Regions from separate parts of the Homo sapiens genome. Here all the other regions are linked to region 2. The links are contacts of gene promoters, found by promoter capture Hi-C in blood cells and fetal thymus (Javierre and others, 2016). All regions are on one chromosome and are shown on one strand. The core of a region is centred on a gene start or on the middle of the fragment in contact, and the rest is flanking DNA. Distances in the headings are between cores, read along the strand shown.

Region 1 (3,474 bases), core at 793-3,292, 160 kb after region 2:
CATCTTATTTACCAGATATCTTCAGTATGTGTCTGAAAGCAGATATTTTAATCTCAGTTTTTCAAATTGGGAGATCGTGACTCAGAATTTAAGAATGCTGCCCAGTAAGTTGCTTGGCAGTAAGCTCTTGGGCTTACATTTGAACTCAGGTTGTGTTTGTCTTGAATATCCTTGATGGTCATAAATCTTTATCTTCTAAGAATGGAAATAATCTTTGAAAATAGCCAAAATTTTCTCCCTTAAATTTGATGAATAAGATGAGTGACTAAATTGATCAAATTCTGGCCTTAAAATATAAAGCAATGAGACGTGTTTTATTATTTGGGTGGTAAACTGTCCCTGAAGGTAATTTCTTCAGAATCAAAACAGGGATATTCAGCAATGTTTTCAGCAGTGGCAGCAGAACTATAGTAAGCATGTGGCCCCTGAGATAACTGTGATAGTCAATACACATTAGGAAGATTAACTTCTGTTTGTTATAAAACAAAACAGAATAGTTATTTTATAGTAACATTTTCATGATGCCAAAATAAATACTTTCATGTCATTATCTAATTGTATACATTGTTTTAAGAAATGTAAAGAAATACTGTATTAGTACAAAATTACACCATTTATGTTAGTGTGGAATGTTTGATCATTTTATTTCTAAGGGAAAATTACAAAACTGTTTAGTTCACCTCAGTTTCTATAATGCAGCCTCTAAAGTCTCATTTCTTTAACAGGGCCTTGTGGGTGTTCTAAAGGAATGATTGAAATGAAAAGAAATGAGAGAGTCAAACAGTGTACCGTAATAGATGAAATGGAAAGTAATTATGTTAATGTTGACTCATTATGAAGCTCTAACCATTTTTACCTGCTCATTTCTGTGTGGAAACCTGTGCAGCTGAGATGCTGAATAAGAAATTCTTGTACAAATGAGCCTAGAGGCATGTTTCTAGTATAGGAGCTAGGTCTATGCAGAATTATAATGAATTTCCCTAAGTCATTATTTAAATATGCTATCAGAGTAGGTGATTCTCCTGCCAGAAAATTTGGCTTCTAATGTTTATCATCAAATTTTTAGATGTATATTTGAATCTTCATTGCTGCATGTAATTCTCATTTGTTAATTAGAGAGAAAAAACCCTATATTCCACAATACATCTATATCATATATAGTGTCAGATTTTACAGGATAACCTGTAAGGAAGGGATTTATGAGAAAAAAATGTTAGCAGGGCCAAACAATGTAAATAAAAACATGTAAGTGCTTAAGAACGTGAGATTTGGAGTCAGATGGGCTAGATTGAAACCAAATCTGTCTGACTCCAAAACTGAAGCTTTTATTCATGGTCAGAAAATTTTGAAAGTGTCACTCCCCTAAATGCCTATACCATTCCCCCCATTGCGCTTAAATGTTTCTTTTTGCCAGTATTCTGTTTCTAAAGCATGCATTTTTCAGTCATAATGTATAATAAAGCTTAATGGTCTTGCCTCCTATGACTAAAATGTCCTGCCAGTATTCTGGAAATAAAATATTATAGAGAATCTCTCTGATTATGTTAAATTGCTAACGATGGCTTAATTACTTGTTAGAAAAATGGTACATTGTCATTTTTAATTTACAGACACTTAATTTTTTCCTATGCTAATAAGTGACTTCTAAAACAATTAAATCCCTGAAACAATTAAATACCTAATTTTTGTTAAATTATATTCAACATTAATTTAAGAGTTTAATTAAAGCTAAAGAACATTTTACCTCGGGCATGAACTTTTTCCCCTTTCTGTCAGATGTGAATGCTTTTAAGTAATAAACTTAAATTTCATGTTCTTAAAATTAATGTTGGTGCTTATAATGTTATTTTGTATTTGGTGGTTTTTAATGGCAGTCTTTTATGTTTGGAATTTCAATTTTTGTATTATTTCCTACAAAGATGCAAGAACTAGTTATACTTTACTTTTAACAGTGAAGTCTTGATAGCATAGAATTATTACACCAGAAGGAATGTAAAAATTTCATCTAGAGCAGAGCTGTCTAGAAGAAATATAATGCAAACCACATATGTAATTTAAAATTTTCTAGAAGCCACATTTAAAAAGTAAAAAGAAACAGGTGAAATTCATTTTAATAATTTATTTTATGTAATCCAATATATTTAGTACATTATCATTTTAATGTGTGATCAATATAAAATTAATGAGATATATCTTTTTATTAACTCTCCATAATATGATGTGTATTTTACATTTATAGCACATTTTAATTCCAACTAGCCACATTTCAAGTGATTGGTTGCCACATGTGACTAATGACTTCCATATTGGACAGTGCAGATCTAGAGTCTCGATTTATTTCCCATCCCTGTATCCCTGATGATATGGCACACTGTGAATAGTGCTATTGGCTTATCAAGTGGTGCATACTTCCCTAGTAAGGGATTATTGGAAAATCCAGGTGAGAGGAGCTGTCTTCTGTAGTTTTGGAGAGTAAATGCATTCAATATGATCCTGATCAGCCCATAACCTGGGGTAGGGGAGCTTACATTCTCCACTGGGAATCACTGATCTTATTTGACCTCTTTATATTCTGCAAGAGGAAATGAGGCCCACCTTCATTCCAGGGTCCATGTTCTGCAATAAGCTTGGCCCTCTTACATTTCTTTCTCTCTTGAAGTAGCCTTTTCCTGTGTTGTTTGTTCATTTTGGGATTTTTTTTTATTATTATTTTTGAGACGGAGTCTGGCTCTGTCGCCCAGGCTGGGGTGCAGTGGCGTGATCTCGGCTCACTGCAAGCTCTGCCTCCTGGGTTCACGCCATTCTCCTGCCTCAGCCTCCTGAGTAGCTGGGACTACAGACGCCCACCACCATGCCCAGCTAATTTTTTTTTTTGTATTTTTAGTAGAGACGGGGTTTCGCTGTGTTAGCCAGGATGGTCTCGATCTCCTGACCTTGTGATCTGCCCGCCTCGGCCTCCCAAAGTGCTGGGATTACAGGCGTGAGCCACCGTGCCCGGCCCATTTTGAGATGTTAATCAGTTTCCCTTCTCTTCTAGTTTTGGATATCTAATGGAAGATTATCACATATCATGAATGATAGTTCTGTTGATGCTATTTCTCTTATTAAATGTTCATTGCCATTATCTTCTTTAAATCTCTACCATTTAAGTCACACTGTTGAAGACTCAACTAATCAGAACCAATTGCCTTGCATTTTGAATGTGAACTGCCCATGAATTCTCTGGATTGAAAAATATTCTCCCTCCCCTCTATTGATTAGTAATGTGTTTTTTGTTCCTTTTCAACATATATTCTAAACGTTTATAGAGTCCTCTTCACTTTCATGCTTATGTTATCCTCTTATTAAATAAAGTAATGCCAAGCCCATCATGTGAGTGTTTCTTGGGAATTGAGAAATTTAGAATTGGGAAAATAGAGAAAGAACTCAGAAATCAAAGGAACCTGGCTCACTGTGTTCAATTTGTTCACATTT
Region 2 (3,340 bases), core at 491-2,990:
TGGGAGCATGTATTCCCTCTTCTCTGCTGTCCTTTGGTAGCTTGCCACCTTAGGAGTAGAGAAGTCACACCTCCATGATTAAAAAGAAAGTCAGCCGGGCACGGTGGCTCACGCCTGTAATCCCAGCTCTTTGGGAGGCCAAGGCAGGCGGATCACCTAAGCTCAGGAGTTTGAGAGCAGCCTGACCAACACGGAGAAACCCCATCTCTACTAAAAATGCAGAATTAGCTGGGCGTGGTGGTGGGTCCCTGTAATCCCAGCTACTTGGGAGGCTGAGGCAGGAGAATCGCTTGAACCCGGGAGGTGGAGATTGCGGTGAGCTGAGATTGCACCTTTGCACTCCAGCCTGGGCAACAAGAGGGAAACTCTGTCTCAGAATTAAAAAAAAAAGAAAGTTAATGACAATGACAAAGCTAGAATTAAAGCTGTTTTCAGATATCTGGTGTTCTTTTCATTCTACTGCCCAAGTTAGCTGTCTCCTTGCACCTATAGCATGGTCAAATGCATCCTAATGCACTCTCAATAAATATGTTCAGATACAAATTCCATTCAGCATATTAAATTTAGGCCGAAGGGGAGAAGGTCAAAAGGAGTCATAGTCTGGAGATATCTTCAGTAATAGGTGTATGGCATGTTTATAGATTTCATATTTAAATTTACTTTATAGGTAGCTTTCCTAGCATATGTGCTCCTATTCTATGATGGTGGTTCATTCAAATCCTACCCACCCCGTCTAATGTTCTCAGTGTGTACCTTTACTTTTAAAGGGCATCATTTAAAGAGGATGGAAGAAATACAGTGTGGGTACTATATTTTGTCCTGAGGACAAAATGCTAGGTATGACGCAAGGACTTAAGACTATCGTCCCAACAGTGCCCTGCTGCTGCACAAAAACACCTAGCATTTGTCTAGGGATTTTCATTTACAACAAAGCTTTGACACACATGATCTTATTCACTCCCCACAACAACTCTAAACTAGTTCGGGAACCTGAAAATAGCACTCAATTCAATTGCTAGCTGTATGTAAGTGTTTTGGTTATAGAACCTAACAATCCCCTAGGGATTAAGCGGTGGGCGCCTGCTGCTTCAACAACCCTGCAGCAAGGGAATAAAGGAACAACTGTATTTCTTCGGTCACAACGTAATCACGACAACAGAAAGCACTCACTCTTTCCACTCTGACCCACACACAGTCTGTCGAGGCAATTAATCAGCACTCCCGGTGGTTTTCCTATAGGATGCCAGTTCCCTTGCCAATCAAGTCTTTCCACAGACTGTAGCAGGACCACACCCCCGGAGAGGCCTCAGGGAGGGAAGGTGCTGTGGCCCACAGAAGTGAAAGCTGATACTCAGGTTGACCCGCCAGTGAAACTTACAGGCGGATCTTCCCGGGCCTCAGTTTCCCCATCTCTAAAATGGGCTACCCTTCCTTTCTCTTGACTAGTTCCCTCCCTGTTCTCGCTGGGCCACTAGGAAGTGAAATCAGTGCCTAACCGCAGCTGAAAGTGCTCTGTTAGGCTCCAGTCACCGCGCCGGGCATGCTCAGTAGCTGGGGCCGGCTCGGCTGCGGGAGTAGGAAGCAGCTTTGCGCGCCCGGGCGGCCGATGCGGGCACTTTGAAGAATCACGTGTGTTGAGGCCCTCTTAAAGAGATAGGCACCTACTTTTCCCTCCACCCTAAACACCGCCCTGAGGGCGGCGGCGACCGTGGTAATTGCAACTGCTCAGGGGCAGGGCTTGCCCCAGCGCCGAGTAGTGGCAACGGCGTGGTTGCGTCGGGGGTGCCTGGGAGCCTGGAGTCCCGGGGGCCTGAAATCGGCAGCTTCCCGGGCAGACACTCTCTCCCTCAGGAAGAGGTGCCGCCGAGTCAGCGCGGGGCAGTGTGAGCGCCCCGAGGTGCTTTCTCAGTTGAGGAGAGGTGGGGTTACAGGGCACAGGTGACAGGGCCGGAGAAAGATGGAGCAGCCCGGGGCGGCGGCGTCGGGAGCGGGAGGCGGCAGCGAGGAACCCGGTGGGGGCCGGAGCAACAAGCGGAGCGCGGGGAACCGGGCCGCCAATGAAGAGGAAACGAAAAACAAACCCAAATTGGTGAGTGCTCCCGCAGCCCCCGCCGGCCTTAGGGACAGGGAGAGCCCCGGGATCCTCCTGCCATTGAACACGGGGGCACCCGGGGCCCCCTCCCAAGGATGACCGCGACCTCGCTGTGCAACTCGGGGAGCCGCTAAAGGAGTGGCCACGCCGAGGCGCGGAGACGGCGTGGGGGCGGAAGAGCACCCCCTTCTCTACTTAACCCCTTTCTCACTCTTGTCAGCCCGGGAGGCGGTGCGGGAAGGAGAAAGGCCCAGCCCCAACTTGGGGACACCCCGAGTACTGGGTAGGGCTGTTGTTTGTCTAACTTGTGGGCGCAAACCTTTGCGCGATTCCATTCTCCTCCCACTTCTTGTTAGTTGCTGTTTTGCCTCCTAACGCGTAGGGTCCGGGGCAGGGGAACCTCCCTCCTTTTTATTCCAAGTCCTTGGGAGCCCACCTACAGCTTCGCAAATCAAGAAGAACACTATTTATGCTCCCAGTCTTTCTACTTTACCAGAAATCTCAGGAAGAGGCGCCTACGTGCCTTTTTCCTCCTCCTTGCCTCTCTCCATGTGCTCTCCCAAGAAATGTTTCTTTGGAAGGGTGGGGGCGCGTGGGAGTTTGAGGCTGGGTGAGGTACCACCAACTGTCGAGTGTGTGTAATAGGCATAGTCATACAGTACTTCCACTTAGTTGATTAAGAACGCTCAAAAGCAGTAGGCACAAACTGTGCAAATCTCACCGTGCTGATAGTGTGAACCGATGGTAGCAGTCCATTTCCTGCCACTGAATGTGCAGAGGAATGAAATCGATGAGGCCTGGTATTGCATTGGGAAATACTGGAGTTTCCTCAGCTCATCAGAAGGGTTCCGCTTTTTGTAAACTTTCTAATTTGGGTGGTGTGAGGGGAAAGGGTTTTCCTGTACAAATTCAGCAGATACTCCTTAGAGCTGTATTCTTAGTCCAGATCCGAAGCACAAGCCACATGTTGAATGTATAGATTTCAGCTTTAACTACCAACTTGATTATAATAGACAAGGAGAGGGTGACATATAAATAAAGCCGTTTCTTATGGCATCTGGCCATTTGGTTTGGATCCAGTACAAAACTGTGGTTTAATCAGTGATTAAAAATTTAAGTAAAAAGTTAACTGATAGTTTCCACAAATGGTTTGGTACGTCTAGCAAGAATCTGCCACTTTTAAGAAGTATGCTTTCGAGAAAAAAAAAAACACTTATCTCTGTTAGTAGTAACACCTTGATTATATTC
Region 3 (3,569 bases), core at 669-3,168, 230 kb before region 2:
ACCCTGTCTCAAAAAAAAAAACAAACAAACAAACAAAAAAAACCAGATGAAAATACAGCACAGCACAGTATTTCTGTTAGATTGTTTTAAAAAAATTGTTTCATAACTAGTTGTGAAATAATTTGGAGGTACTAGCAGATCAGATGTGGCTTTTGAAGCAACTTTCAGCAGTTACAGATCAAATTCTGTTTTCAATGACTTCCTCATTAATACGCCATCTCCCTGTTACACATACGATGCGCGCTTTATTATCTGGCAGGGGATTTACTGCAGTATGGATTTATTTGTGAGATTCTGAGCACATCTTCACTTCACACCAGACTGCCAACCAGCTTCCCTGACCCCAGCATACTTGGAAACACACTAAGGACATGCGAATCTCTCGGCTCCAATTTTAACAAGCAGCTTCCCTTCCACCTATTTACAAATTATAGCCAAGAGAACAAATGTTCACCTTTATAGAGTAATGTTTCCAGAAGGTACAGTTTACTATATTTGTGTGTTAACTCACTTGACTTTACTGACACCACTCTTACCTGTTTCTCCATCATAACAACCCTATTACATTGGGAACCCCTAACTTTTCTATAAAGTTTTAAATAAAATCAAGCCCATTTTGGAAAGCATGGACTTGGAATCTTTTTTAAACTACGAATGAGTATGATACAAACAGTAATAATATAAGATAGAAATCATTTGCTTTAGAGACTATACCAAATATTATAGAATGTCCCATTGTGAAAAGTAGTTTAACACAGAATTAGCAATCAAGGCTTTTTGCCAGCCTCCTTAGCAGCTGTTAAAATTTGTTTGGAACCTTAGCATGAGAAAAACTGCAACAACTGTAAACTACAGTGGTTCATCTGAAATAAATTTATGGTTATGAAAAGCACAGAAAAACATCTGCAAAGGAAAGAAAACACTAGGGGGGTAGAAGGGAAAGTTAGTAAAGCTTCCCAGAATTATCCCAGGGCCTGTCAGGGAAGGTTAAACAAGAGGTTTCCCCTACAGCTGCCAGAGACAGAATTGGAGCTACCAAGAGTTAAAGGAATCAAATAAAGGGTGGAAGGATCTAAGGGATTTCTATCTCTATCTCATAGACTGAGAGTAAGGAAATACACTGGGGTATAGCTAGGCAGTAACCTCCTAAGCAGAGGAATATATGAAGAAATGGGATGGGTAGTGCCATACATGATAGCACAGTCTGTACACAAACAAGAAGATATATTCCATATTGTGCAAAGGGCTCATTACAGTGATTCCCAAAGAGTAACTTCAAAGTAGCAACTTTAGATGGCATAAAACTGAATTTCAACACATGCTAATAAATCAGGAGCTGAGCGGAAAGGTTAAAAAGTGCATGCTCAGGCTGGGCATTGTGTCTCACACCTGTAATCCCAGCACTTTGGGAAACCAAAGCGGGAGGATCGCTTGAGGCCAGGAGTTCAAGACCAGCTTGCACAACACATGGAGACTTCATCTCTACAAAGAATAACAATACAAAAATTAGCTGGGCATGGTGGCACGAGTCTGTGGTCCCAGCTACTCTGGAAGCTGAACCGGGAGGATCACTTGAGCCCACTTCAAGGTCACATTGAGTTATGAGCTTGCTACTGCACTCCAGCCTGAGCAACAGAGTGAGACTCTGTCTCAAAAAAAAAAAAAAAAAAAAGCACGTTCAAAACAAAATAGAAACTCTGAGTGGAAAATCAAAAAAGACAATATGGACTGGGCCCAGTGGCTCACGCCTGTAATCCCAGTACTTTGGGAGGCAGAGGCAGGCAGATCACCAGAGGTCGAGAGTTCAAGACCAGACTGGCCAACATGGTGAAACCCCGTCTTTACTAAAAATACAAAAGTTAATCAGGTGTGGTGGTGCATGCCTGTAATCCCAGCTACTCAGGAGGCTGAGACAGGAGAATCACTTGAACCCGGGAGGCGGAGGTTGCAGTGAGCCAAGATTGCACCATCGCACTCCAGTCTGGGCAACAAAGCAAGACTCCATCTCAAAACAAACAAACAAATGAAACAGGCAATGTGGAGAATTCCAAGTAATTAATGCTGTTAAAAATTGACATACATTTGAGTCAAGTTCACAATAAATTCAGAAAACTGCATTCAGGAATTTAAAAAGACATCAACTATTATCAATGGGTTATCTTTGCCTCAATTTTTATTAGCCAAGTGATTTATCCTCTCTCACTCCTCTTTCTTGTAATCTTCTAAGCCATTCGTAGGCCAAATATATGTTAAGTGGAAATTTCCCAAGATTGATGTGGAAAATTGTCACAATAAAATGTAAATCCATGTTGATTATCTTTCCATCATTAAGTATTTAGCAGTAACTTTAGACATACTGTAGAAATAATGTATAGAATGTTCAATGCATTTATTCTCTGAGGAGTTATAAATCTAAGATGCACTGGATAGCTGTCACTGTCTTCTAGTGTATTACAAGACAGTGATGATAACGGCTGTGCATGTTAAAGATTGTTTTCTTGTCAAAAATGCCAGATAACTGGACATTAGAGAGCTTGCTTAAGGCCACACTCCTTGAAGTCAACAAAACATATAAATATTTTTTAAGTTCCAATATAGTTCATATTACTTGCTACATCTTAATGTTGGGTAAATCTGGACTACTAACTAACTACATGAGTTGAGCAATAATCTTAATTGGATGGTAGTTATATGTTAACAGTAAGATATTCATCCAATAAGAAGTCAGAACAAGATAAAAATCTTTGTGCTATACATTTATACTGCGGGTTTATAGGGAATGTGTCTTAGAGATGTTCATCCTATATCTATGTAACAGTTTCTATCATATTAGGTCCTCCACACTCCACCATCCTCCACAGCCAGGTTAATCGACTACTATCACCTAAGCTTCTCATACGCAACCCTGTACCTTCACACATGAGGTCTCCTTACTTTAAATATTCTCACAGTGCCTCCTCAACAAATCCTCAAATCCCCCAGTTCCTTTATACCTCAGCTCACTTGTCATGTACTTTATCAAGACTTCTGGCTGGGCACGGTGGCTCACACACGTAATCCCAGCACTTTGGGAGGCCGAGGTGGGTGGATCACTTGAGGTCAGGAGTTCAAGACCAGCCTGGCCAACATGGTGAAACCTCATCTCTACTAGAAATACGTATATATAAAAATTAGCTGGGCGTGGTGGCAGGCGCTTGTAATCCCAGCTACTCAGGAGGGTGAGGCAGGAGAATCGCTTGAACCCGGGAGACAGAGGCTGCAGTGAGCTGAGATCACATCACTGCACTCCAGCCTGGGCGAAAGTGAGACTCTGTCTCAAAAAATAAAGACTTCTGACTAGTCTCAGTTTATACTTAACTTTCCACAACTTTGAATTCCTCTAACACTTATCAATAGTTTATATCACAGGATTATATTCTTGTTCATATGTAGGAATTATTCTCGGTAATTATGTAAAAAAAAATATAATAAGTCGGGCCGGGCGCAGTGGCTCATGCCTGTAATCCCAGGCCGAGGTTTCACCGTGTTGGTCAGGCTGGTCTCGAACTCCTGACCTCATGATCCACCCA

What was found. Contacts are between HindIII fragments. The CHiCAGO score rates a contact against its expected background, and 5 or more counts as called.
Region 1: a fragment that was not itself captured here is called in contact with the fragment with the promoter of DIAPH2 in region 2 in 1 of 17 cell types (total B cells); the score reaches 5.0 in total B cells.
Region 3: a contact is called between a fragment that was not itself captured here and the fragment with the promoter of DIAPH2 in region 2, in 1 of 17 cell types (monocytes). The highest score is 7.0, in monocytes.

What each region holds. Positions count from the first base shown.
Region 1 is chrX:96,837,913-96,841,386 of GRCh38, forward strand. All of the region lies in intron 4 of DIAPH2 (diaphanous related formin 2), which reads left to right. Among named protein-coding and RNA genes, the nearest start is that of RPA4, 44 kb to the right of the region's middle. The HindIII fragment of the contact is 1,164 bases long and covers 1,461-2,624 here.
Region 2 is chrX:96,683,102-96,686,441 of GRCh38, forward strand. DIAPH2 (diaphanous related formin 2) reads left to right here and starts at 1,741. Exons shown (of 27, transcript NM_006729.5): 1 at 1,741-2,089. The coding sequence starts at 1,958. RefSeq lists enhancers at 1,529-2,244, 2,245-2,958. The HindIII fragment of the contact is 2,760 bases long and covers 932-3,340 here.
Region 3 is chrX:96,449,146-96,452,714 of GRCh38, forward strand. All of the region lies in intron 1 of LOC107985714 (a long non-coding RNA gene), which reads right to left. Among named protein-coding and RNA genes, the nearest start is that of DIAPH2, 230 kb to the right of the region's middle. The HindIII fragment of the contact is 1,937 bases long and covers 951-2,887 here.